6 separate regions of the Homo sapiens genome follow, and all the other regions are linked to region 3. The links are contacts of gene promoters, found by promoter capture Hi-C in blood cells and fetal thymus (Javierre and others, 2016). All regions are on one chromosome and are shown on one strand. Each heading gives the region's core, a stretch centred on a gene start or on the middle of the fragment in contact. The rest is flanking DNA. Distances are from core to core; before and after follow the strand shown.

Region 1 (4,314 bases), core at 411-2,910, 540 kb before region 3:
GTATAGGTTTTTGTGTGAACAGAGTCTTTATTTCTCTGGGATATATGCCCAGGAGTACACTTACTGGGTTGTGTGGCAGTTGCATGTTTAGTTTTTTAAAAAACTGGTGAGCTGTTTTGTAAAATGTTCTAGCATGGCTGGAACATCCCAAAGTGCCGGGATTACAGGCATGAGGCACCACGCCTGGCCTGTCACCATTTAGCCATTCTGATAGGTGTATAGGGATGTCTCATTGTGGTTTTAACGTGCATTTCCTTAAAGGCTAATGATGTTGAACACTTCTCATGTGCTTATTTGTCAACTGTATATTTTCTTCAGGGAACTATCTTTTGTTCATTTTCTAATGGGATTGTTTGTCCTTTTTACTATTAACTTTTGAGACTTGTTTATTCTTTATATATTCTAAATACTGGTCCTTTGTTGGGTATGTTGTTTGTCTGTAGCTTGTCTTTTCATCCCCTTAATAAGGTCTTTTGCAGAGCAAAAGTTTTAAATTTGTTGAAGTCCAGTTTCTCAGTTTATTTTTTTATGGATCATTCTTTTTGGTGTCAAGTCTGGGAACTCTTTGCCTAGCCCTAGATCCTGAAGATTTTTCCCTTGTGCTTTTTTTCCCTAATAGTTTTGTGGTTTTTACATGATCCAGTTTATGAAGCTGAGATTTAGGTCAAAATTGTGTGTGTGTTTGTGTGTGTGTTTATGCGTGTGTCTATGGATGTTCAGTTACTTCAGCACCATTCCTTGAAAAGGCTGTCATTCCTCCGTTGAATTGCCTTTGTATCTTTGTAAAAAAGCATTTGGAGCTGGGAGTGGTGGGCATGGGCATGGGGTAGACTGATTCCTCCTACACTTTTTTTCCCCCGTTATTTTAGCTGTTCTAGTTCCTTTGCTTTTCCTTATAAATTGTAGAATAATCTTGTTTATATCTACAAAAAAGGTCTTTCTGGGCTTTTGATACAAATTGCAGTAGACCTGTATCAGTATGGAGAAGATCGACGTCTTTAGTATGTATGTTGCATTTTTCAATCTGTGAACACAGGTTGTCTCTCCATTTATTTAGATCCTTGATTTCTTTCATCAGCATTGTGTAGTTTTATCATGCAAGTCCTGTACATATGTTTTGTTAGTTTTTATTGGATTTGTTTTGTTACATTTGTAAGTAAATATTTCTTTTTATATTTTAGTAATTGTAACGGTATTTTTAATTTTGGTGTCCATGTACTCATTGCCAGTATGTAGAAATATAATTAACTTTCATATGTTGATTTTGTATTCCACAATCTTGCTGAACCTACTTATTAGTTCTAGGAGTTCTTCTGGAGATTCCTTGGGATTTTCTATGCAGACTACCATGTTACCTGCAAAGAGGAACAATTTTATTCTTTTCCTTTTTAATCTGCACACTTTTTCTTGCCTTTTCTTGCCATGTTGCACTGGCTGAAATATCAGCACTATGATGAATAAGAAGGGTGAGAAAGGACAGTCTTTGTGATCTTGGGGGAAAGCATTCCTTCAGTCCTTAACTATGAGGTATAATGTTAACTATAGGATTTTCATGGATGCTGTTTATCAAGTTAGGGAAGTTCCTCTCTGTTCCTATCTTCCTGAGAGTTTTTATCATGAGTGAGTGTTGAATTTTATTGTGTTTTTTGTTCATCAGTTGATCTGATCATGTGATTTTTCTTCTTTAGCCTGTCAATATGGTGCATTGTATTGATTTATTTTTTAAATATTGAGCCAGCCTTACATCCATGGCATGAAACTTGGTCACAGTATAACACTTTTTGTACATATGTTGCTGAATTCCATTTACTAATATTTTGTTAAGGAATTTTGCACTTAGATTCATGGGGGCATTTAGCAATGTTTCCCTCTCAGCACTGTTTTCTCTGTGTTCCACACCTTTGTTTTATTTTTATTTCCATTCAATTCAATGTCTGTTTTTATTTTATCTTGGGACTTCCACTTTGAGCCATGGTATGTTGAAGAGGGCTGTTGAGATTCCAAGTATTAGGAAATTTTCCTTTCATCTTCTGTTTTCGGTTTCTAGTTTGATTCCATTTTGGTTGGAGAGCACACTCTGATTTCAGTTCTTTTAAATTTATTGAGGTTTGTTTTACAGCCCAGAATATGGTCTGTCTGTGGGCCCCTGAATGAAATGTGTTTTCTGCTCTTACATCCTGTTGGTTGATGATGCTGTTGAATTCTGTGTCTTTGCTTGTTTTTGTCAAGGCATTCTATCAACTGTGGAGAGAGAAGGCCAGTTATTTTCTCTGGTTATGGGACTCTGTGTTGATAGTTCTTTCAGCCCTTGAAAAAATTATACCACTTTCTTCTGGCTTCCATGGTTTCTGAGGAGAAATCCACTGTCATTCTAATAATTTTTCCTCTGTAGAAAGGAATCGTTTTTCTCTCACTGTTCTCAGGATTTTTTCTTCGTCTTTAGTTTTCGAAAGTTTTATTATGATACATTTCGGTGTGGATTCCTTTGGGTTTATACTGCTTGGGGTTCACTCAGATTCCTAAATCTGTAAGTTTATGTCACTTGCCAAATTTAGGAAGTTTTCACCATTACTTTTTTGAGTACTTTTTCAGCCTGCCCTCTTTCTCCTCTTCTTTCAAGACTCTGATGACTGGAATGTTCAGTCTTTTGTTATGATTCCACATGTTTTTGAGGCTTTGTCAATTTTTCTTTAGTCCATTTCTCTCTTATTCATATTGGGCTCTTGTCTTCCAGTTCCTTTCCTGTGTCCTTCCCTCCCTTTCTGCTGCTGAGTCTTTTTATTTTGGTATTTTTCAGCTCTAAAATTTGCTTTAGGTTTTTCTTCATATCTTGTATTTCTTTGTTGAGGCTTTTTGTTTATTTATTCTTAATTTGTTTCAAGCATGCTTGTAATTATTGAAGCATGTCTATCACAGCTGCTTTAAAATTGTTGTCAGATAATTCTAACATCTCTCTTCTTGGTGTTGCTGCCTCCTGATGTCTTTTTCATTCAGTTTGAGTTCATCCTGGCTCTTGGTATGATGAGTGATTTTTAAATGAAAACCTGGGTGTTTTTATATTATACTATGAGATTCTGGATCTTACTTAAGCCTTCTGTTTTAGCTCGCTTTGTTTTGATACCACCCTGGCGGGGGAAGGTTGGTGGGGAGGGCACATGGCACTGTCTAGTGATCACTAGAGGAAATTAGAAGTACAGGCTCCCCACTTGGCCTTTCTTGACCCAAGAGGTACAGTATCTTGTTTCCACCAGGTGGGAGTAGAGGTCCAGGATATCCGGGGGAGAGGGTGTATGTGGAAGGGTGCCTTGTTACCAGCTGATGTAAATGAAAGCTTGGGCTCCCTACTTGGCCTTCTCAACACCACCCTGGTGTGTGGGAAGTGGGTGCCTTATTATAACCCGGGGAGTACGTGAAGTCTAGGCTACCCACCTGACCTTTGTTGGCATGGGTCGGGGTAAGGCTACAGTTTTTTTCTGTGATGTTTGTCTGGAGTAGAGTGGTTTTTTTCCTATCAGTTTTCTGTCTCAGTAGGATGTCCCTTTCTTGGTCTTTTGACTTTTTTTCCCTTCTGCTTCTGTTAATGTTTCCAGGTTTCAGATTGCTGCCATTTTCAACTCCAGAAAGCTGGGATATATGAGGCAAAAATAAGTCTCAGGGAACTCACCATTTTATTGTTCCTTGCAGCCTGAGGTCCCTAGCCTTCTTCTCTCCACAGTTAAGAATCTTCTCATGTTTGTTTTATATGTAATGTTCAGAGTTTTCAGTTGTGCTTAGTGGGAGGAATAGGGAAAATACATCTGCTTCATCTTCCTGGAATTGAATATCCCCGAAGGATCAGTTTGTAACATTTCTTCTTTTCATGGGCTGATGTTTTCCTAATATGTGTAAAATATGAATTGCAAGAAAAATGAAATTAAAAACCACAATATATAATTTCCATTTCAAAAATTATTGGATTCAGTAGATGTAACATTTATCTGTCAAATTGCTACCAAAGTTTCTAAATGCTTGCTCTCACCCTCTCTCCTTACTCCTCATGGACTAGGTGAGTGCCAGTTTGCCATCTAGGAACTAGACTTTGACTAGCACTGCCTGGAGTGTTACTGCTTGATTCTTTTTAAAATGATAGACTAGTGATTAGCCATTCAGTTGAACTTCTCTGCTGTTTTCCATGGATTTTTGTAGGGACACCTTCAATGTGAAGCCCATTTTAGTCCTTAATGGGGAGGGATGTTTGGGATTGTTTTGAGGGCAGATGTAGCAGCGGTGATGAGAGTTGAGAGTGCATCTCTGATTTCAAGTGATCCATTTGTT
Region 2 (4,506 bases), core at 444-2,943, 620 kb after region 3:
AGGCACAGAAAGGACCCTATTCAGGGCCTTACAGCTGGTAACCAGAGGGATCATCTTAGTCATGCAAATGAGCCTGCCTAAATACTTATATTTTGATGTCAGATCAAAAAGTTTCAAAAGGTGTCTCTTTGGGTAAAACCTACTTTTTGAAACTGTTTCCTGGCTAAGAAAATTTTGTTTTGGATGTTCAAACCTGCATTTGTTTTAACTTTTATTTTAGGTTCAGGGATACATGTGAAGGTTTGTTAACATAGGTAAACTCATGTCATGGGGGTTTGTTGTACAGATTATTTCATCACCCAGGTACTAAGCCCAGTATCCGATAGTTATCTTTTCTGCTCCTCTCCCTCCTTCCACCCTCCACCTTCATGTCCAGTGTCTGTTGTTTCCTTCTTTGTGTTCATAAGTTCTCATCATTTAGCTCCCATTTATAAATGAGAACATGTGATATTTGGTTTTCTGTTCCCGTGTTGGTTTGCTAAGGATAATGGCCTCCAGCTCCATCCATGTTCCCACAAAAGACATGATCGTGTTCTTTCTTATGGATGTATAGTGTTTCGTGGTGTATATGTACCACATTTTTTTATCCAATCTGTTATTGATGGGCATTGAGGTTGATTTCATGTCTTTGCTGTTGTGATTAGTGCTACAATGAACATTCGTGTGCATGTGTCTTTCTGGTAGAATGATTTATATTCCTCTTGGTATATATATACCCAGTAATGGGATTGCTGGGTCGAATGGAAGTTCTGCTTTTAGCTCTTTGAAGAATCACCATACTGCTTTCCACAATGGTTGAATTAATTTACACTCCCTCCAACCGAGTATAAGTGTTCCTTTTTTTCCACAACTTCACCAACATCTGTTATTTTTTGACTTTTTAATTATAACCATTTTCACTGATGTGAGATGGTATCTCATTGTGGTTTAGATTTGCATTTCTCTGATGATCAGTGATGTTGAGCCTTTTTTTTTTCCATATTCTTGTTGGTCACATGTATGTCTTCTTTTAAAAAGTGTCTGTTCGGGGCCGGGCATGGTGGCTCACGCCTGTAATCCCAGCATTTTGGGGGGCCAAGGTGGGTGGATCACGAGGTCAGGAGATCAAGATCATCCTGGCTAACACGGTGAAACCCTGTCTCTACTAAAAATACAAAAAATTAGCTGAGCATGGTGGTGGGCACCTGTAGTCCCAGCTACTCAGGAGGCTAAGACAGGAGAATGGCATGACCTGGGAGGTGGAGCTTGCAGTGAGCCGAGACAGTGCCACTACACTCCAGCCTGGGAGACAGAGGAAGACTCCATCTCAAAAAAAGAAGTGTCTGTTCATGTCCTTTGCCCACTTTTAGTGGGGTTGTTCATTTTTCTCTTGTAAATTAAAGTTCCTTAAAGATGCTCGACATTAGACCTTTGTCAGATGCATAGTGTGCAAAAATTTTCGCCCACTCTATAGGTTATCTGTTTACTCTGTTGATAGTTTCTTTTGCTGTGCAGAACTTCTTAAATTTAATTAGATCCCATTTGTCAATTTTTGCTTTCATTGTGATTGCTTTTGGTAAATTTCGCTGTGATTGCTTTGTCAGCCTGTTCCTATGTCCAGGATGGTATTGCCTAGGTTGTCTCCCAGGGTTTTTATAGTTTTGGGTTTTACATTTAAGTCTTTAATCCATCTAGAGATGACTTTTGTATATGGTGTAAGGAAAGTGTCCAATCTTCAACATTTGACTAGCCAGTTATCCCAGCACCATTTATTGAATAGAGAGTCTTTTCCCCATTGCTTGTTTTGTCAGCTTTGTCAAAGATCAGATGGTCATAGGTGTGTGACCTTATTTCTGGGCTTTCTATTCTGTTCCATTGGTCTATGTGCCTGTTTCTGTACTAGTACTATGCTGTCGCAATTACTGTAGCCCTATATTGTAAAGTTGGGTAGTGTGATGCCTCCAGCTTTGTTCTTTTTGCTTAGGATTGCCTTGGTAATCCAGGCTCTTTTTTTGTTCCATATGAATTTTAAAACAATTTTTTTCTAGTTCTGTGAAGAATGTCTTTGGTAGTTTGATAGGAATAGCATTGAATCTGTAAACTGCTTTGGGCAGTATGGCCATTTTAATGACACTAATCCTTCCAATTCATGAGCATGGGATATTTTCCATTTGTTTGTGTCATCTCTGATTTCTTTGAGCAGTGTTTTGTAATTCTCATTGTAGATATCTTTCACCTCCCTGGTTAGCTGTATTCCTAGGTATTTTATTCTTTTCGTGGCAACTGTGAATGAGATTGCCTTTCTGATTTGGCTCTCAGCTTGACTGTTGTTGGTGTGTAGGAAAGCTAGTGATTTTTGTACATTGATTTTGTATCCTGGAACTTTGCTGAAGTTATCAGCTGAAGGAGCTTTTGGGCTGAGATGATGGAGTTTTCTGGATATAGAATCATGTCATTTGCAAACAAAGATAGTTTGACTTTCTCTCATCCTATTTGAATGCGCTTTATTTCTCCTTCCTGATTGCCCTGACCAGAACTTCCAACATTATGTTGCATAGAAGTGGTGAGAGAGGGCATCCGTGTCTCCTGCTGGTTTTCAAGGGGAATGCTTCTAGCTTTTGCCCATTCAGTATGATATTGGCTGTGGATTTGTCATAGATGGCCCTTATTATTATATTTTGAGGTATGTTCCTTCAATACCTAGTTTATCGAGTGTTTTAACATGAAGGGTGTTGAATTTTATTGAAAGCCTTTTCTGTGTCTATTGAGATAATAATGTGGGTTTTGTCTTTAATTCTTAAACGTGCATATTAACCTTTCCTTTTATCCTTTTGTACTCTCTGGATGTACAGACCCACCCACTCACTCCTGTAGATTCATTAGGCTACAGTTGCACTGTGAAAGGCACAGAGAGGGACTGGGGAGAGGAAGAGAAGAAAGCTGTTATTAGTCGATTCTCATGCTGCTAATAAAGACATATCCGAGACTGGGTAATTTATAAAGGAAAGAAGGTTAATTGACTCACAGTTCTGCACCACTGGGGAGGCCTCAGGAAACTTACAATCACAGTGGAAGGGGAACCAAACACGTCCTTCTTCACATAACGGCAGCAAGGAGAAGTGCCAAGCAAAGCGGGAAAGCCCTTATAAAACCATCAGATCTCGTGAGATCTTACTCTCACAAGAACAGGATGGGGGATACCGCCCCCTATGATTCAATTGTTTCCACCTGGTCCCTAAACAATGCATGGGAATTATGGGAACTACAATTTAAGATGAGATTTGGGTGGAGACACAGCCAAACCATATCAAAAGCCTTCCTGGGAGGCCTAGCAAACTACAGCAATGGACTGCCATTCAAGGGGGAGAGACAGGCAGAAGACAAGTAAACACCAAGACTGGTGTGCCATTGCCCAAAGTCCACCCCTCCCATTCTGGGCTAGACAGTGGCAGGCTTGAGTAAGAGTCAGATGATGGAACAAATCAAAGATGTTTGACTTGTGCTTTGGCTTACTGGTTAGGGGGGCCAGCCTGCCCATAACCATACAATCTTCATATCATGTATTCTAAAAGTTACAAACTCAACTGAAAAAAATTCCTTAAAAGTTTTATGGCCTCAAAGTCATATCCTTTTTGTTCTTCTGAAGGAATACCATAGTTTCTCTCTTTTCAAATGTATATCTGGATCTTTTTCAGACCTTTACTTGTTTGTTGTTACTCTCCTTGTTTGTAAAATACATGCTTAAATAACATTTCCAATTTATATGTTAAGTTTGGATTCCCTGTGCATCCAAAAACAATGCTCTAGAAAGTGTAGGATAAAGAATCTTGGGTTGTACTTATGTATAAAATAGGACCCAGAATGTTAATCTATTAGAATGAGGTGAAGTGGTTAGCTAGCTGCAGGCTGATGGATTCTCCCCTCAAATCTTCCTGCATACAGATCTTGAATAGTTGTTATATTATACTGTACTGTCCTATCCTAATATCATATCATATATCTAATATATAATGTCAAGTGGTAATAACAGCCAGGAAGAAAAAATAAGAGTATAAATGGTTAGGTAGTGACCTGACACAGGGTGGTCATGGAAGGCTTCTCGGAGGAGGTGGTATTTTGGGCAGAGACCTGTGGAATGAGTGAGAGCCATCCATGCAGCTGTCAGTAGGGAAAACATTCTACACATGGGGAACAGCTGGTACTGGATACCTTGTCAGGCCTGTGGTCCTACCCTGTGGAGTGGCCTCCTCACCCCTCCCCACAGGCCCTGCAGGCTCTCAGTTCCTTGGCCTCTGTGTCCCTCCAGGGCTCCTGCACACTACACATGGTGTCTGGGGCTCTGAGGTGGGCTTTTTCAGGGAATAACCAGGATTCCAGTGTAACTAGAGTCACAAGAGATGAAGTCAGAGAGGTGATAGGGCTAGTCGTCCAGGGCCTTATTTGGAAATGCTATATTTAGTTTATCCATGCATTATATCCATCCAATGCTATACTTAGTTTATCTTTCCATGGACATTTGGGTTGTTT
Region 3 (4,699 bases), core at 2,200-4,699:
TTTTTTATTAATAATGTTCACCTTTATAGACTTTCTCTAAAGATAGCCTTGATATCTTTCTCTACATATTTTATATTCTGTATTAGAAAAAATTGTAGGAGGCAGCACTACGCTCACCAAAAGAACTGTTCCCTAAGTTCTGAATTGGGAATGTTTACAACATAGCAGGCATGCTTTGTGGCAAGTGCCTTGCTGAGAAGGTGGAAATTCCCTTTTCAATAACTTCAACATTTTACTTTTACTTTAAACTCCTCATAACTAGAGATAGAGTAGCAGAGACAGGACAGACACACAGGTATATTAAAATAATGAACAGCACTCATCTTACCTCCTGAGGATTTTCATTTGTGTTTCTGGAATACATAAAGCCTTTTCGGGGCTCACTCACAGATTCATTTGTTTTCCTACCAGCCAGCCGGCTCACCCGGCTCTTTGATGTGACACTGGGTGGAGTGGAGCTGCTTACATCTTTGGGGAAGAGTTTTCCAGGTCTTGGAGTCTCTATTGTCTCTAGAAAGTGAGTTCCTTCAGAGACAGTGTTGTACACAGTTGAGGTCACTTCACTAGCACTAACACTGTCCTTGACATTCCTTCTACCACTGGCATGTTCTGGTCGGTGAGCTCCTTTCCCCTGGCTGTTTCTAGGATCTTTACCTGAACTATCTGAGTCATGGTCTGGGCAAAGAGCTTTTCGCTTATTTTTACCAGAAGCAGCATGATTATGGTGAGAGTGATGATCATGGTCAGAGTGATGCTCGTGCTCTGAGTGATGCTCATGGTCTGAGTGACGCTCATGGTCTGAGTGATGCTCGTGGTCTGAGTGATGGTCGTGGTCATGGTGTATATGGATTCTTTTAATCTTATCTATGCCTATATTTTGAAGTAATTTTCTGAACCCTTCAACTGACAAAGAATTATTTTCTCCATAGCGGTAGAAAAGCTGTTGTAGATGATATTGCCGTGTGGAAATTGCCAAGTCAACATTAATGCCAGATTCCCAATTCGGACTAATTTTCTCAGTGGTCTGGGGGAAAGCAGCTGCTTTTAGTTCATGAAGGGGATTTGTGACAGAGAGGGCAAAGGTCAGGATCAAGATTACAGATAACTTCCTCGCCATTGCGCCTTCCTAGAAAAGACAGGAAAAAAAAATTCTTGACTCACTTCTAAAACAAATTGAATTAAGAAACCTCATACTGAAAATTAATGTGTAATCAAATAATCAAAGTTGCCAGAGCATCATGTGGTGTGACCAGTGTGACGCTAGGTACTGTGAAGATGGAAAGAACTAGAGTCCTAGGCTCTACCCTTGCATTCCTAAAACACATGAAACAACTGGAGAAGAGCTGAGTGCTAAGAGACTGCCATTAGCACTGTAAAAGCAATAGTAATTCAGAGACAAGGGAGATCCATGTGGCCACAGCCATCAACTGCTTACTGAAGTTGAGAATTTATTTGAACGATTATTTGAATCATTGAGGCCAATGATTCATAATTAAATCTAGGCTGGGTGTGGTGGCTCATGCCTATAATCCCAGCACTTTGGGAGGCTGAGGCAGGCAGATCACCTGAGGCCAGGAGTTTGTGACCAGCCTGGGCAACATTGTGAAACCCTGTCTCAAAAAAAAAAAAGAACGAAATGAAATCTAGCTACCTTGATCATCACCATCATTTCATAAAATAACCTTCAAACACCAAAAAATAGAAATAATAATCTCAGAATTCACATATTTAAAAAATTTTAAACTAATACACTCTCCTTACATACAAGCCCATTTAAGACCCCTTTCCCCAATCACAATCCTCAAAGGTGCTCAATTTTGCCAGTGTATCCCTCAGGATATTTTCTATGCATACTCAAATACATGTATACTTAATTTTTTTTTTAAAGTTTTTTTTTTTTTTTTCTAGAGACGAGGTCTCACTATGTTGTCCGGGTTGGTCTTGAACTCCTGGCCTCAAGAGATCCTCCACCTCCAATTCCCAAAGTGCTGGGATTACAGGCGTGACCACTACGCCCAGCCTCAAATAAGTGTATACTTTAAATACACATTGAATCTTTTTTCCGACTTGACAATGAATCAGACACATTATGTCCATACATAGAATTCTTAAAGTAAACTGAACTTCATGAAAAACTCACTGTAGCATCCTTGTGTTACTACAAACCAGTCAACATTTAATCACAGGCTGTTAATCATCCACAGTAGTGTTTGGAACCAAAGGCCTGTGCCCCAAAGAGGAGGAAGCAATTGAGTTGGAGCTTGAAAAGCAGAATTCAGTTAAGCAGAGCCAGAATTCAGTTAATTCAGATCCAGCAGGATGTCCAGCACCAACGGTGGAGGTGATGGTGGTCAAACTCACATCTCCAGCAAAAGACGCAGACGTCAAGTTTACAACTAAGCAAGAGCATGGGGCTATCCAGCTCTACCACGGTCAGCTGTTCTTTGGACAGGGCTCTCGCATTCATTACCTTATCTAAAATACCGGTAAAACCTATTTTGCAAGGCGAAGGAGGAAAACACATGAAGGAATGTATATTACAAGTACTCGTTAAACTCATGTGTTGCACAAGTGCGAGGTATCATACAGGGAACAGTGGGAAATGGAGGTACGGCGTAGAACGAGGCTCCTGAAAGAGGAATCTTTGGGGCTTGAAGTTTCGGGAATTCTTTTACTAGGTAAAAGATAAACATTTAGAAATCATTCCCAGGAGAGAGGCGAGGAGCGGGGTGGGAGGGGACTAGCACAGGGGACAGCTCCGAGCCTTTCTCCAGGGAGGATGCTGAGCGCGGTCGTGGACCCGTTGAAGGATCTCCTTTCCTGCAAGTTGGTGTGTGCTGGAGGAAAAAGGAAAGCAGAAGGGAAGGGCCTTAGAGAAAAAGGCGAGTACAGAAAACGGAAAAGAGGGCACAAAGCTCTCTTCTAAAAGCTTTTTATTTCTAAACACGTCAGTCCCTTCTTCGAATATGGGATGAAAAGTACGGATCTTTTCCTCAAAAAATCCTCCGTTGCACCCCGAAGCCCATCTGAGCACCTTAAGAAGTCCGGCTCTCTAGGGTGAGTGGGCGCCTGCGGCGGGCTCCCCCCAGCATCCTCTTTCTGTAGCCCCCCTGCCCGGTCCGCAGGATCCGGTTCTCCGCAGAACCACCCCTACCCCGCCACGCCTGTCTGGCCTGAGGAGCTCCCCTCCCAGCCGCCCTGCTCCCGGACCTGAAAGACTCACGTCTCCGCGGCCTCGTTGTCCCACGGCCCGGCCACGCGCGCAGGTTTGGTTCCACACGGGCGGTCCAGAGGGCTCGGAACGGGCCCACTGGTGTCTTCGAGAAATCTCTACCAGGCGCGAACACGCGGTGGTTTCATTGGGTTGGCTGCCCCTCGGTCCGGGGGCAGCGCCGCGCAGCCACCCGGCAGCCGCGCCCCTAGCCTTCGCGAAGCTGGAAGACAATCACTAATTACCGCCGCGCGCAGCGCCGCGGGGAACCACCGCCCCCTTCGCCCAGGACTGCAGGGCATGCGCAGTGCGACCCCGGAACCCGGCTCCGCAGACGGATCCGCTTTTCCGTGTGTTCGCCGACGCCGCGGGGGCGTGGCGCGGCCCTAGCGCATTGTAAGCAGTTGGGGGTCATTTCCTCGAGGCCCTACTCGCTAGCCAGCGCCCCCGGGGCCAGCCCTGGCTGCTGCTGGGAGCCGGGTCGTAAGGGGCAGCGAGATGTTTCTGACGCTGCCCCAGGCACATGAGCCCCGGGTCCTTCGGGAGGGTCCCGAGCCACTCGGGTCGGATTTCGCTCTTGAGACAAAGGCCTGGCTCGTTCGCGGAGCGGGGCCACGGTCCAAGAGCAGAGCTAGCAAAGCGGCGGCCTTGCACAGGGGTTCCAGCCTGCGGTGGGAACGGAGAGTCTCAGGGGGGCGGGGCTGCCTCCGTCTGGCCCTCGGCTGGCTGCGAAACGTGGACTGGGTGATGCCTCAGGAGAAACCACCCTAGTAGTTCCGCTCCGAGGGCGGAAGTGCGCGTCTCTTGTTTGTGCGGCTGACCAGTTGGCGACATGGTGGCACCCGTGCTGGAGACTTCTCACGTGTTTTGCTGCCCAAACCGGGTGCGGGGAGTCCTGAACTGGAGCTCTGGGCCCAGAGGACTTCTGGCCTTTGGCACGTCCTGCTCCGTGGTGCTCTATGACCCCCTGGTAAGAGAGGTCGCTGGACGGCCGACCCTTGTGCTTTTCGGGTTGAACCTGTGGACGTGCTCCGGGCGCGCTGTTAGTTGCCGCCCCAGACCTAGGAGGCGAGTCGGGTCGGCTCAGGGGAGCGGGGTTTGGGCTCGGAGTCTCCAGTGGACCTGCCGGACTCGCTCCTCACCCCTCACCCTTTGCCGTCTCACGCGTGGCGTCATCCTAGGGTCATTGCTGCCCATGAGCTGCTAGTAACCTGTTAGTCCCACGCAGAAACCCGAATGATAAGCATCTTACCTGAAGCCTTCCTTGGGAACTGTAGTACCGTTAATCAATTTGGGTTTTAAAACAATTGAAATTTATATGTAGATTAAAACCATCATCCCACAGGTGCAATCTCATTTCAGTATTTCCTTCAGTTTTGGTTAATGAACTTTTGTTGTATTGAATTTCAAGGAAATGTTACCTGTGTTTTAGCTACGGGAATGGACATTTTAGAGAAAGTGTCAGTTTGGGGGAAAGGTCATAGGGGA
Region 4 (4,745 bases), core at 366-2,865, 710 kb after region 3:
CTTCTTATCACTGGTTTTGAGCAATTTGGTTATAGTATACCCTGGAGTAATTTTTTTTTTTGAGGTGCAGAGTTGCTGTGTCGCCCAGGCTAGAGTGCAGTGGCACGATCTTGGTTTACTGCAACCTCCGCTTCCCAGGTTCAAGTGATTCTCCTACCTCAGCCTCCTGAGTAGCTGGGATTACGGGCGTGCACCGCCACACCCGGCTAATTTTTGTATTTTTAGTAGAGATGGGGTTTCACCATGTTGGTCAGGCTGGTCTCGAACTCCTGACCTCATTATCTGCCCGCCTCGGCCTCCCAAAGTGCTGGGATTACAGGTGTGAGCCACCATGCCCATCCTACCTTGGAGTAATTTTTAAAGTATCTCTTTTGTTTGAGGTTTGTTGAGCTTTTTGGGACTGTGGGTTTATAGTTTTCATCAAATTGGGAAATGTTTCAGCCATTGTTTCTCCAGATATTTTTGTTTCCCTCTCTTTCTAGTGACCTTAGTTGCACAAATACTAGGCCTCTTGAAGTTACCCTCTCAGCTCTCTGATCCTCTGTTCATATTTTTTTCATTAAAAAATTTTTTTGTTTATCCTTGGATAGTTTGTATTGCTGTTGCTATGTCTTCAAATTCATTAACCTTCTGCAATGTCTAATCTGCCACTAATCTCATCCAGTGTGTTTTTCATATGAAACAATGTAGTTTTATCTTTAGAAGTTCAGTTTCAGTCTCTTATTTTTGTTTACATCTTCCATGTCGCTACTTGACATGCTTTCTTCTAGGTTCTTGAACATATGGAACATAGTTATAATAACTGTTTCAATATTCTTGACTATGAATTCTATCATCCAAGTCATTTGTGGATAGGTTTCAATTGAGCAATTTTTCTCCTAATTATAGGCTGTATTTTTCTGCTTCTTTGCCTGCTTGGTTGTCTTTTATTGGATGTCACAAGACAGTATGCATTTTGCCTTTTTGGGTTCTGAGACAGTGATAAATTATTTGGAAGCAATTTGATTCTTTCCAAGCTTCATTTTGAGCTTTTAAAGGTGGTGCCAGAGCAGCTTTTAGTATAGGGGTAATTTTGCCCATTGTAGGCCATACTCTTTTGAATACTCTTCCTGATGCCCCTTAAATTACAAGGTTTTCCCCTCTGGCTGGTGGGAACAGACTGTTCTCCTATGCTGTATTAGCTACAGAAATTGTTTCCACTGTTCATTTTGGGCTCTTTCCCCGGGATGAGTAGTTTTCTCACATACATATGCTGGTCAGTGCTCAGTAGTTGACGCGAAGGGATTCTGCAGATCCCTGGAGCTCTCCTATGCAGCTCTATCCTTGGCATTACTTTGCCCTGCAAGGTTTCTAGTGTTTCTGCAAACACTAGAAACCTTGGCTTTCCTGGACTCCCAGCTGTATCTTTTCAACTCAGGGAGATTGCTGGGCTCTGTCTGGATTTACCTACCTTAGCCCTGAAAACTCTCCACAGCAGTTAGCTGGGACAGTTGTAGGGCTCGCCTTGTTTGTTTCTGCAATTCCAGTGATCATTCTGTGTTGCCTGCTATCCAATGAAAACTATTGTTTCCTGTTTTTTTGTCAGGTTTTTGTTTTGTTTTGTTTTCTGAAACTAGGGTAAATCTGGTCCCTGTTACTCCATCTGGGCTAGAAGAGGATGTCCTACATTGTCGGGGGTATATGTGTCTATGTGTGCTTTTTCTTAAAACTAGAAATGGTGGTTTGCTTTTTCTTTTCCTTTTTTCCATTGAAGAGCATGTCTTGTGATTTTTTTTTTTTTTTTTGACAGAGTCTGGCTCTGTAGCCCAGGTACAGTGGCATGGTCTCGGCTCACTGCAACCTCTGCCTCCTGGGTTCTGGTTCAAGAAATTCTCATGCCTCAGCCTCTCAACTAGCTGGGATTACAGGAACGCACTACCATGCCCAGATGATTTTTGTATAAACAGAGATGGGGTTTCACTATGTTGACCAGGCTGGTCTTGAACTCCTGACCTCGTGATCCACCCACCTCGGCCTCCGAAAGTGCTGGGATTATAGGCATGAGCCACTGTGCCCAGCCATCTTGTGATTTTTTTCTCTGTGTAGTCTTTGTTGGTATTGATGTTGAGTATCCTTAATTCATTAAGGATTTCACAGTGGTAATTAGGTCAGTTCAAGTCTTCTGGGAAGCAGACCGCGAGATGGAATTAGAAATGGAAGAGATTTAATGAAGGAAAAGCTTATAAAGCATAAAGAGTAGAATGAGCAGGAATCTTCAGATTTCACTACAGTCTGGCACCTGTGACAGGAGAGGAAAAGAAGGAAGATTGACTAGGAAGAACCTCAGACTTCAGATTGCCATGCAATCTGAGATAAGTGTCCTTTTTGCTAGTGAGGAACCCCAGAGCAAATACTGCCTTTTGAGGATGCCATTTGGATCAGAAATAGCTCAGTTCTAGTGTCTCTACTGTTCCCAGTCATTGGTGTTGGTATGAACAGTGCAGTGGATCCCAAAGGTTTGGCAACTGGAGGCTGTTAGCTGATTATACTCTGCAGCAAGTTCCCTCTCTCTTTTGTGGCCATATTGCTTTATTTTTTACAGTTAAGCCTACTATTCATCAGGAAGTAATATGCACATGTAGTGTAAAGTAAGATTCACTGCAATTCAGAGAGAAAAGAATCCTCTTCCCAATAGATGGTGTTGGGCCCATAGACTGCCAGTATTGGGTCAATAGACTGTCAGTATTGGCCCAACACCATCTACTGGGAAGAGGATTCTTTTCTTCTTTGAATTGCAATGATACCATTGTTGTAAGTCAAGTGACTGTAGATATGTGGCCTTTCCTCATCATGTTTTCTTCTTTGGTAATTCGTATCCTGAACTTTATAATTCTTTTGTTTTTCCATATCGGGGTTCGCCGACTTTTTCTATAAATTGGACAGGTAGTAAATACTTTAACTTTTGCAGGCTGTAACATCTGTCTCAACAACTCAACTCTGCCACAGTAGCATTAAAAGAGCCATAAGCAATATGCAAATGAATGAGCACGTTTTAATAAACCTTTGTTTACAAAAACAGCCAGTGGGCCAGATTCGGCTTGCAGCCATGGTTTACCAAGCCCTGTCCTACAGTGTAAATACATTTTTTTTGAAACAGTATTTCATATATATTTGGAACTTTATATAAATGAGCTCATATCCATTTGTATTGTGTGATTTGCTTTTTATTTCATATTATGTTTATGAGATTTCTTGTTTTTTTTTCCCTCTATGGCTCTTCCAATGTTACGTGAGATTTCTTTATGTTGTATGTAGTTATATTTCATTTCTTTTCACCGTCTCGGGGTTTAGTCAGTTATTTTAACTTAGAATATTTAAAAGAAAAATTATTGAATAGTGCGAGAACCAAAAAGGCAAAAAGGGAACATTAAAGTATCATGAAAGTAGTAACTATAAGAAACAACCACAATCTCTAGAACTGGATGAGAGGGCAGAATAAGTCGGAATTATTGAAACTTAGAAGCTTAGAGGAGGGGCCCCTTAAAGCTGCAACTTGGACCTCTGGTGATGGGACACCAACCCGGCTGGTACTGCCATTTCTGAGGAGGCCTGATAAAGGCTGGTTCTGTAAGGGCTGGAAAAAATTGCAAACTGGAATCAGCAGTACTTGCCAGGGTAAGGAACTCAGGGGTGACACTGTCAGTAACAGGAAGGAAGTAGCCTTCCTTCTTTCTTCCTGGTCTTCATCTAGTTCTTTGTGTTGGCAGAGTTCAACAGAGTGCCAGGTGGCGAAGGAGAAATGGTGTTTCCAGAGTCTTAGACTTAGCATCTCAAAGCAGAGGGTGGAAGGGTAGTTTTGAGGGGGAAAGTTAGTATCATAGCTACCAGTACCTCTAGAATTTCATTGTATCAATATGCCAGCCACAGTTTTACTATTCTGTAGTTAATAGACATTTGCCTTTTCAGATTTTTGCTGTTGTTAACACAATGCCACTAATTATTTATTTTTTTTTTTTTGCCTAGTTACAAAGATTTCTCTTTTGTTCTTTTACTCAGCACATCACTAATGAAATGTCTTTTCATGGGTTATCAGCAACTTCCTCCATTGCCAAATCCATTGCCTTCTTCCCCCAGTCTATTTGTCTTTTTTAATCATTAGCACTGTTGAACCCACACTATTCTTGAAACTTTTTCTTTCTTGTTTTCTCCTACAATGTTATATGCTTCTGATTCTCCACTTGTCCTTTCAAATGCCACTTTAAATTAAACTAAAATCCAATTACTTAAATTGAAATTAAAATCAAATGCCAATTTTCCTGGACTTGTAGATGATTTTTAAAATACTAATATTTTTTCTTAATTTTAAATACATAATTATTAAAGAAAAATTTAAAACATAGAAAAGTATAAAGAATAATAAAAAATCTTAACATTATCCATAATACCATACACTGACTTTTAAATCTTTATGATTTTCTCTAGTTTGAAAGCTAGACCTACCTTTCCAGCTTCCTGCCTAGACGTTTGCACATGAATGGTTTGCTGGCATCTTACATTGAGCATTTCTAAAACCAAAGCTTATTTTATTATCATCTTCTTTTCTCCATTTTTTTCCCTACTCTCTTTCCCACCTTCGGCTATTACTATTTCCAGAATTCACTTTAGGTGTTTTCAGTTATTCTTGGCTACCCGAGGTAATTGGACTAACTTAACTTTGGTGGTTGCGCAAATGCCAAGGATTACAGCTCCTTCCTTTTACATGTTAC
Region 5 (4,288 bases), core at 308-2,807, 640 kb before region 3:
ACCCCTGCCCCAGGCCAGAGCTGGTTTTATGCTTCACTTTCCTCTCCCCCGACCCCCACATTACTACACCCTTAGCCTAGCTGAGACTCCTGTGTCTACTAACAACAGGATGAGAGGGAGACAGACCTTTAGTCAAAGGGAAGATCAAGTCTGTGAGGCTTGGATGCAATAAGATAAAATTAAAATGATGCATCATTTCCATATTACTAAAGCACTATTATCACTAAGGACTTTACAAGATGAACTGTCCCGCCCCAAGATATGAACACCCTAAGAGGAGAGGAAGGAACGCCTAGCACTAAGGGGCGCCCCCTCTTTGCAGCACTAACAGAGCTGATGTAAGTCTCAGGGAAGAGAAATCCAGCCTGCTACTCAGGAAACACACGCCTATGCTAATAGACTGGAGTTCACAAGGCCTGGGTCTCGCCCTGCTCTGCTCTGCCCAACTGAAGAACCCAAATCAATGGCTTCATCTCTCCAGACAGTAGTGTGCTTGACTCTGAATCAGACTAAAGGATAATTTGGACATTCTGTCTGTGGTTACAAAGAAAGGAGAAAAATATCCTTTGTCTTATTACTGAAAAGTCAAATGTCAAGTTATATCTATGTCATAGAATTATAGATGCAAATAGCTGACCCTGGTCTAAAACTGCAAGGTTACTATAGGGTTACTTAAAACAGCAAAAATTCAAAATGCAACCTCAATATCCAATAATAAAGTCAATTAAATATGAGTAGTTAATTCCTTGGAATATAATGCAGTCAATAGTCATAAAAGACTATTTGACTTTTAAAAGTCTAATTGAGAAGACTATCAACACATAGAAATGTTCACAAAATAATGCTAAGTGAAAAACGGGGCACGTAATACTATATACCAAATATAATGATGAAAAACTGTATCTACATGTAGAAAACACAAATTATAATAGTTGTTGGGGAAGGAGATTGGGTGACTTTTTATGTCAATTTTAAAAATGAAAAAAAAGGTAATTTTAAAAATAGAAAAGAATAACTTTTAAGACTTAAAATTATCAGGATTTGTTGAATTTTTACTTTTGTGTTTTACAAAAGTTGAATAGTAGGATGACTATTTTTTCAATGAATAAACCAAATCAGTCCAGCATTATCTGGCTGCCCCTCCAATTACAGAAGATTCTCTCATTATCTGCCCTATCCTCCTAAAGATGCAACTACTGCCTCTCCACTTTAGATGTTTTATTAGCTGCTTCACAAATGAAGAGGCTATTAAGTAACTCTCAGTCTATAGGTTAATTAGATTTCTCAGTACATTTTATCAACTTTAATACACATTTGAAAAGCCTAAATTACCCTATATTGATTCAGTAAAACTGTTGCCAAAAGCATTTCTCTGTACCATGAATTTGGTTATACCAGAGATCTAATTAATAATCTTCTAATATACAAAGTAACAGAGTGATATCAAGAGAGGCAGTTAAGAAAAAAGAATGTAGACTCTGGACGGCATGCCTGGGTTCGAATCCCGACACTAACACTGTGTGAGCTTGGGCAAGTTACACAGTCTCTCTATGCTCTTGGCGTTTTTATCTGTAAAATGAAGTGATCAATTCACAGAGGGTCGTTTGGAGAATTAAATGACATAGTACTTAGAAAGTACATAGAACAGTGCCTGGCATGTAGTAAATGCTTGATAAATATTAATTACTATTATTTATCCTTATTCCTTTCACTTTAACAGTTATCTGTTCCCCAACCCACCAAAATTAATCCCTTCAAAGTAACAACCAGAGTGAATGGAAGACTGCACTTTCATAACATTATTAATCAACAACTGTTATAGTGAAAATATAAATCCACAGAATTGTGATTCTAAGATGATTTGTACCACCCCTTAGCAAGCATGAACATTAGTAGTAATTTCTGCTGAACTAGAGAGAGCCATCTTGATGAAATGATAAAACAAAGTTGTTTTTGTACTACTAAATTATTTAATAGTATTTCCTAACACTGATGTAAAGAAGGCTTCTATAAATGCTTTTCTCAGAATACTTTTAGCTGAAAAATATTCCCTTCAACTCCTCAGGACTTCTAAGCATCTAAATTTCTAAACTTCTTTAAATTTCAACTAAGCACTCAATTTTACTTTAGAAACAGCAAGCATATTTCAGGAAAGTTAAACCCACCTTAAGAATCCATGATAATTCAAGTTATCTTTAACAATCTCAAAAGGCACTCTAATGTCCTACACGTAAATGTGCTTTGTAAATTTTAAAATTCCATGAAAGTTTTACATACTTTGCCTTTACTTAAGAATCAAAATAGCTAAAATTACTGACGTAGGGAAATTTACGTGATGAAAGACCTATAAAATCTCCTCTAACTCAAGAAATACAATCATTTATAGAAAAACACTCACTTCCCCACTAAGGGAACCTTGGGCAACCTGGGTTAATCTCACAATGAGCACAGCTCTGAACCTGGAATGCCTTCTCCAGCAAACCTCTCCAAGCCAACTTCAAGTCCCTCTGCCTCCCTACCTCTCCTTTGAGTACCATCACCAGCACTGAGGAATCATCCTCCTGTGTCTCACCACAATAGGGCACCAACACCTATAATTACCTATAATTAGCTTTGGCTCAAGGTTAGACATTACTATATCTTCCTAATGGTTTCATTTGTGTGATAGGTAGAATTCCAGTACACCCCTGCTACCTTGCAAGTACTCTGCCCCTGGTGTGCACACAATTTCTCCGAGTTATTCAAGCAGACACTAATCTAGGTGCAGCTACAAAGGGGTTTTGCAGATGTAATTAAGGTCTCAAATCAGCTGACTTTTAAAAAAGGTGATTATCCAAGTAGGCCTGCCTAATCACATAAATCTTTTAAATCTGAGTCCAGGGGTCAGCAATAAAAGAAGTCTGAAATATCTGAAGCATGAGAAGAATTGGACACAAGGGAGATTCTCCATAGCTGGCTCTGAAAATGGAAAACGCCATGTGGCAAGGAACACGGGCAGCAGCTGACAGCCAGCAAGAAGACAGGGGCCCTGCAGTCCTGCCGCCCCAAAAGAACAGAATTCTGCCAACAACCTGAATTCACCTGCATGCAAATTTCTCCCCAGAGCCTTCAGACAAGAACTCGGCTAACACTTTGATTTCAGCTTTGTGATACCCAGAGCAGAGAGTCAACCCAGTTGCATTGTGTCAGGACTTCTGACCTACAGAACCATGAGCTACTAAATGAGTGTTATTTAAGCCACTAAATTTGTGATAATTTGTAATGACAGCAGTAGAAAACTAAACACAATGTATATACGTCATTCTCTCCTGGGATGTTTTTGGTAGTGTGGGGACAAGCTATAATCCTTTGAAATGTCTTAAGCATACTGCTGGGGATGGAACAGAAACAGTACAATAAATTACTGCTACATGAACTGAACTGAAACAGAACAGAAAGGTTGGGCAAGTGACACAGATGAGGGTGACCTCAAGAAGATTCCTGGCAGCCCTCAGGGGTACTGTGCTTATGCCTGCTTATTTCCTATACGCTGTGAAAAGGGAACTAGAATGAAAGGATCACAGCAAGGCAAAAATCTAAGACAACCGGGCACAGTGGCTCATGCCTGTAATCCCTAAACTTTGGGAGGCCAATGTGGGCAGATTGCTTGACCCCAGGAGTTTGAGACGAGCTTGGGTTATGTGGTGAAATTCCACCTCTACCAAAAATACAATGGTGGCATGCACCTGTCGTCCCAGCTACTTGGGAGGCTGAGGTGGGAGGATCCACTGAGCCAGGAGGTCGAGGCTGCAGTGAGCCATGATTGTGCCACTGTCCTCCAGCCTGGGTGACAGAAGAAGACCCTGTCTTCTTTAGTAAATATCAGTTGGGAAAAGGAGAGTCAGGACAAAAGAAGGCACTATTTCATGAAATGCTCTGCCCTTTCCAGCTTCTCCTGAGGCTGCTGCTTGGATACAAAAAAGGCCCAGAGGGAATAGAGAGTTAAGATTTCCACCATATTGGATTACTGGGAATTTCCAGTCTCCTGAAGGCATTTGACCACTTTCAGAAGCTTGTGGTAGTGGAAGTTGATCAACAATCCCTTTGGGGTCAAAACAATTATTCCTACCCATATGTCCTAGTGACACTCCTTGGTCCTGGCACAACTGGTTATCAAAACGCACCAGTCGCAGGCTGGGAGCAATTACTCACAATACATACATCTGGCAAAGGAGTCTAATCAAGAAAGATAATGTAATGAACTTCTACACATCAATATAATTTTTTTTTAAAAGCCAATTAGAAAAAA
Region 6 (4,277 bases), core at 207-2,706, 750 kb before region 3:
TCATGCCTGTAATCCCAGCACTTTGGGAGGTCGAGATGGGCAGATCACATGAGCCAAGGAGTTCGAGACCAGCCTGGCCAACATGGCTAAACCGCATCTCTACAAAACATACAGAAATTAGCCGAGTGTAGAGACGCATGCCTGTAGTCCCCGCTTCTTGGGAGGCTGAGGGGTGAGGATCACCTCAATCTGGGGAGGTGGAGACTGCAGTTAGCCATGATTGCGCCACTGCCCTCCAGCCTGGGCTGCAAAGTGAGAGCGTCTCAAAAAATAAATAAATAAATAAATTTAAGCCTAAATGCACCACAGCCCCACCTCGTGACTTCCTTCTCTAGCCCCTTTCCCTAGGGACTCCTGGAAAATGTACTTGTACTCGTAACTGAGGAATTAGGGAGAGGACGGAGATGCTTGAAAAGCACTTGCTAATTAATAAAGAACAATAACAAAAAATCCCTTTTGGTATGACGCCGCCCCAAAAGTATGTTAGTACTGGAATCTGAAGTGAAGAAAGAAGAGGCTGGTTTACTCAGTTTATGACGCTAGGGGACTAGGGAGAGGTTTGGATCCCAATTAGAGTACAGTAAAACTAAATCTGAAGAAATTCTTGCTTCAAACAAGGGGCTTTCACAGGATAAGACTTTTTGCTGATGCAGCTGCCAACACAAATAGCAAACAGCCCAAAAGTGCAGGTGGGAATGTGTTTCTGGCGCTGGTGGGTAGGGTAGGTTAAATGACTCACGTCAGGGGAGAATTTGAAACGAGGGCAAGGCTTGGCAGTGGTGTGAAGTCACAGGAGACAATTTAAGGAGAATATGAACGACAGTCAGAAGCTTCAAGGAGAAGGAGGAACTGTGGGATGTGGCAAGAGGTCAGGGATGATGAATTCATGGGTATGGTCCACCAAACAGCCAGATATCAGAGGCCAAAGTTAAAAACAGCAACAACAAAAAAGGGAGCAGACATAAAAGATTGATTAGAAAAGTTTCACAGTCAGGTAGTTAGAGCAAGAACAGGTTTTTGTTTGCTGTTTTAATTTTTTAAAAATTTTGGGGGTAAAGTGAAAAGAAATTAGCAGGAATAAGGTCCCAGTAGGGTGAGCACCTACTATATACCAGTTGTATCGTAAACACCGGGAATTCAATGGTAAAATATAGATTCTTGCCCTTTAGGGGCTAATAGACTAAGTAAAGAGAAAGATGAATAAATTGACTTTTCTAAACAATGTGGCAACATTCTGATGGAGACAACTGCAGGATACTATAAAAGCACAAAGAAAGGGAGGTCCTGGGTAGAGACTGGGATTGGAGTTGATGGAGAAAGCTGGTGTTGATACATTTGAGACTGAGGTACCAGTGTGGGATGTTGTTTAGATTTGCTGGATTAAAGGACAGCAGGATGAGTGGCTGAGGATGAGGCTGAAGAGGCAAACAGCAGCCTAGTTTTAAAGGGTTTGACAGGCCAAGTAAAGGGCTATGAACTAAGGTTTTAAGCAGAAACTTGAATTAGTGGCATGTGCACATCTGCAATTCAGGTAGGGCTCTCTGATAGCAACACGAAGGATAGATCTGAAGGGAGGCAAAACTCAAGACAGGGTTACCAGCTCTGAAGCTGTTGCAAAGATCCAGGCTGCAGCTGGTGAAGGTCTGAACTAGCACAGAGGGGACGAGAATGGAGGCAGATTCTGGAAACACTTGGGAGGCTGGTGCTTGCTTAGATGGAAGACTGACAGATGATTGGGTACATAATGTGTCATTCAGGGAAGTTAAACAACAGAGTATGTTTGACAATGGCTTATGTGGATATTTGAGGGGATTTTTGGGTAGACTGGATCAGAAGCTGAATGGGATGCTATCATCAATAACTGCACATAATTGGACATTTTGTGTGATCATGTGAAAATAAATATCAAACATGTTTTATATCTGAATGCTTCCCTTATATAGGTATGTAAAGATCTCTATGACTTTTATGAACCATTTCTAAGGCAATCACTCTACAATGACATTATAGAGACATTTATTTCTCAACTTTGTACTCTTCACCACTCCCTTCATCCCAACATATTTGCTCTCCACCTAGGTAGAAGCTTTTAGGGGCATGGATCTGTGTCTGTCTAAACACATAACCCTTGTTTTTTTTGACCCGAGGTGCATGAAGTGGATGTATTATACACAGCTGCCATGTTTCTATAGGATAAGGAATTAGAAGGTTAAGAAATTTAGGTTGGCTCAAGCATGGTGGCTCATGCCTGTAATCCTAGCACTTTGGGAGATCGAGGTAGGAGGATTGCCTGAGCCCAGTAGTTCGAGACTAGCCTGGACAACATGGCAAAACCCCATCTCCACAAAAAAATACCAAAAATTAGCTGGGCATAGTGGCATGCACCTTTGGTCTCAGCTTCTTGGGAGGCTGAGATGGGAGAATCACTTGAGCCCAGGAAGTCAAGGCTGCAGTGAGCCATGATCATTCCACTGCACTCCAACTCGGGCAACAGAATGAGACCCTGTCTCAAAAAAAAAGAAACTTAGGTTTATAAACACTGCATGTTCTCACTTATAAGTGAGAGCTAAACATTGAGTACACATGGACACAAAGAGGGGAATAATAGACATTAGGGCCTACTTGAGTGGGGGGTCGGGGTTCAAAAACTACCCACTATGCCTATTACCTGGGTGATGAGATAATATGTACACCAAACCCCCATTCAGTTAATCTGTATAACAAGCCTCCACATGTACCCCAAAACTGAAATAAAAAATTAACAAAAATAAAAACTTTAAAATTAAAAAAAAAAGAAATTTAGATTGAGCAATAAAAAGCAATTTGCCTACAATGGAACTATGGTTTCCAAGCAAGTGGTGGATGGGTTGTATGTGTAGGAGTCCAAGTGTGGGTACACACTTGTCAACCTGAAATAATAAAAGGGTCAGAATCCAGTTTTAAAGAGTTTATTCAAACAAAAAGCTGGGAATAGCCATTCCAGGACACACAGACTCCAGAGAAATGGGATCAGTGCTCCAAAGTTAAAAGTTAAATCTTGCTAATATAGGAAGAAGACAAAGAAATTTATCAGGATTGCAACATTTTCTATACAAGGCTGGCTTAATAGTTTCAACAAATTAATTAGTTAGTTTGTTTTCTTTTCCATATAGCTTGTTTTCTTTATAGTTGGTTTTCATTTGGTTTCCAATTTAAAAGAGTGTATTTAACATTCTATCTTAAGTCAATGTGATAGTCAAGAAGTCTGTGTGTGAGAAAGGTAAGAGAAAGGTGAATCTATAATAAAGGCCAACAGTGGAGAGGGAAGGGGTCTTCCTCTTCCCTTTGGCCATATATAACATTTTACAAAACAATGCAGGTAAGGGAAAAGGCTTCATCTGTAATCAGAGAAACAGAAGGTTATAGCTCCCTAGTTTATAGGTGCCTACCATGTGACTCAGGATCAGTAATAACATTCTTCCAAGTCCTAAAATAATTTAGAGTTCTAGCAGCTTAGATTTCGAATGACTCTTTTTCACACAGTGAACAGATATGAGAGTTTGTGTGAGGGAACTAGGGGAGCTCTCTCTCCCTTAGTGGAAGACGTGAATAAAGTATCAAGTTGGGAAAACAATTAAGGAAGTGTATTAGTCTGTTTTCACGCCGCTGATAAAGACATACCTGAGACTGGCAATTTACAAAAGAAAGAGGTTTAGTTGGACTTACAGTTCCACATGGCTGGGGAGGCCTCACAATCGTGGCAGAAGGCAAAGAGGAGCAAGTCATATCTTACGTGGATGGCAGCAGGCAAGAGAAAAGAGAGCTTGTGCAGAGTAACTCCTGTTTTTAAAACCATCAGATCTAATGAGACCCATTCACTATCATGAGAACAGCATGGGGAAAGACCCGCCCCCATGCTTCAGTCATCTCCCACCGGGTCCCTCCCACAACACATGGGGATTATGGGAGCTACAAAATGAGATTTGGGTGGGGACACAAAGCCAAACCATATCAGGAAGTATCCCAAACTGAGTTCATCTTCTCTCTCCATCACCCTCAATAGGCCAAATTCCTTGCTTTGATAGTGAAACTGCTGTTAGCTCTATGTTCCAGGCAGTAAGTCTTAGGAGTCATCTTACACATTTTTCTTTCCCTTGTTTATGAAATCCAATGTGGTCTCAAAGTCAACAGACAAACCTGGGTTCACTCCCCAACTCTGCCGCAAGCTACTGTGGGTTAAGTCCTAAAATTCTCTAATCCTTATTTCCTGATTATAAAATTGGGATCATAATAATCTG

The links. The method cuts DNA at HindIII sites, captures the fragments that hold promoters and counts their contacts. A CHiCAGO score of 5 or more calls a contact.
Region 1: a fragment that was not itself captured here is called in contact with the fragment with the promoter of SLC39A6 in region 3 in 1 of 17 cell types (total B cells); the score reaches 6.0 in total B cells.
Region 2: a contact is called between a fragment that was not itself captured here and the fragment with the promoter of SLC39A6 in region 3, in 1 of 17 cell types (erythroblasts). The highest score is 5.2, in erythroblasts.
Region 4: a contact is called between a fragment that was not itself captured here and the fragment with the promoter of SLC39A6 in region 3, in 1 of 17 cell types (total CD8 T cells). The highest score is 5.3, in total CD8 T cells.
Region 5: a contact is called between a fragment that was not itself captured here and the fragment with the promoter of SLC39A6 in region 3, in 1 of 17 cell types (naive CD8 T cells). The highest score is 5.5, in naive CD8 T cells.
Region 6: a fragment that was not itself captured here is called in contact with the fragment with the promoter of SLC39A6 in region 3 in 1 of 17 cell types (monocytes); the score reaches 6.7 in monocytes.

Annotation. Positions count from the first base shown.
Region 1 is chr18:35,585,935-35,590,248 of GRCh38, forward strand. All of the region lies in intron 1 of GALNT1 (polypeptide N-acetylgalactosaminyltransferase 1), which reads left to right. Among named protein-coding and RNA genes, the nearest start is that of MIR3975, 3.6 kb to the right of the region's middle. The HindIII fragment of the contact is 3,338 bases long and covers 1-3,329 here.
Region 2 is chr18:36,748,980-36,753,485 of GRCh38, forward strand. All of the region lies in intron 24 of FHOD3 (formin homology 2 domain containing 3), which reads left to right. Among named protein-coding and RNA genes, the nearest start is that of TPGS2, 78 kb to the right of the region's middle. The HindIII fragment of the contact is 7,350 bases long and covers 1-4,506 here.
Region 3 is chr18:36,125,891-36,130,589 of GRCh38, forward strand. It overlaps SLC39A6 (solute carrier family 39 member 6), which reads right to left and starts at 3,450. Exons shown (of 10, transcript NM_012319.4): 1 at 3,224-3,450; 2 at 329-1,126. The coding sequence starts at 1,117. ELP2 (elongator acetyltransferase complex subunit 2) reads left to right here and starts at 4,009. Exons shown (of 22, transcript NM_018255.4): 1 at 4,009-4,181. The coding sequence starts at 4,044. RefSeq lists enhancers at 3,248-3,753, 3,376-3,670, 3,701-3,890, 3,754-4,259, 4,051-4,260. The HindIII fragment of the contact is 4,684 bases long and covers 2,928-4,699 here.
Region 4 is chr18:36,838,692-36,843,436 of GRCh38, forward strand. The region is part of intron 3 of KIAA1328; the gene reads left to right. Among named protein-coding and RNA genes, the nearest start is that of KIAA1328, 12 kb to the left of the region's middle. The HindIII fragment of the contact is 1,202 bases long and covers 1,015-2,216 here.
Region 5 is chr18:35,491,565-35,495,852 of GRCh38, forward strand. The region is part of intron 1 of INO80C (INO80 complex subunit C); the gene reads right to left. Among named protein-coding and RNA genes, the nearest start is that of INO80C, 4.3 kb to the right of the region's middle. RefSeq lists an enhancer at 1-456. The HindIII fragment of the contact is 4,983 bases long and covers 1-4,049 here.
Region 6 is chr18:35,377,868-35,382,144 of GRCh38, forward strand. No RefSeq gene overlaps it. Among named protein-coding and RNA genes, the nearest start is that of ZNF396, 2.7 kb to the left of the region's middle. The HindIII fragment of the contact is 1,256 bases long and covers 829-2,084 here.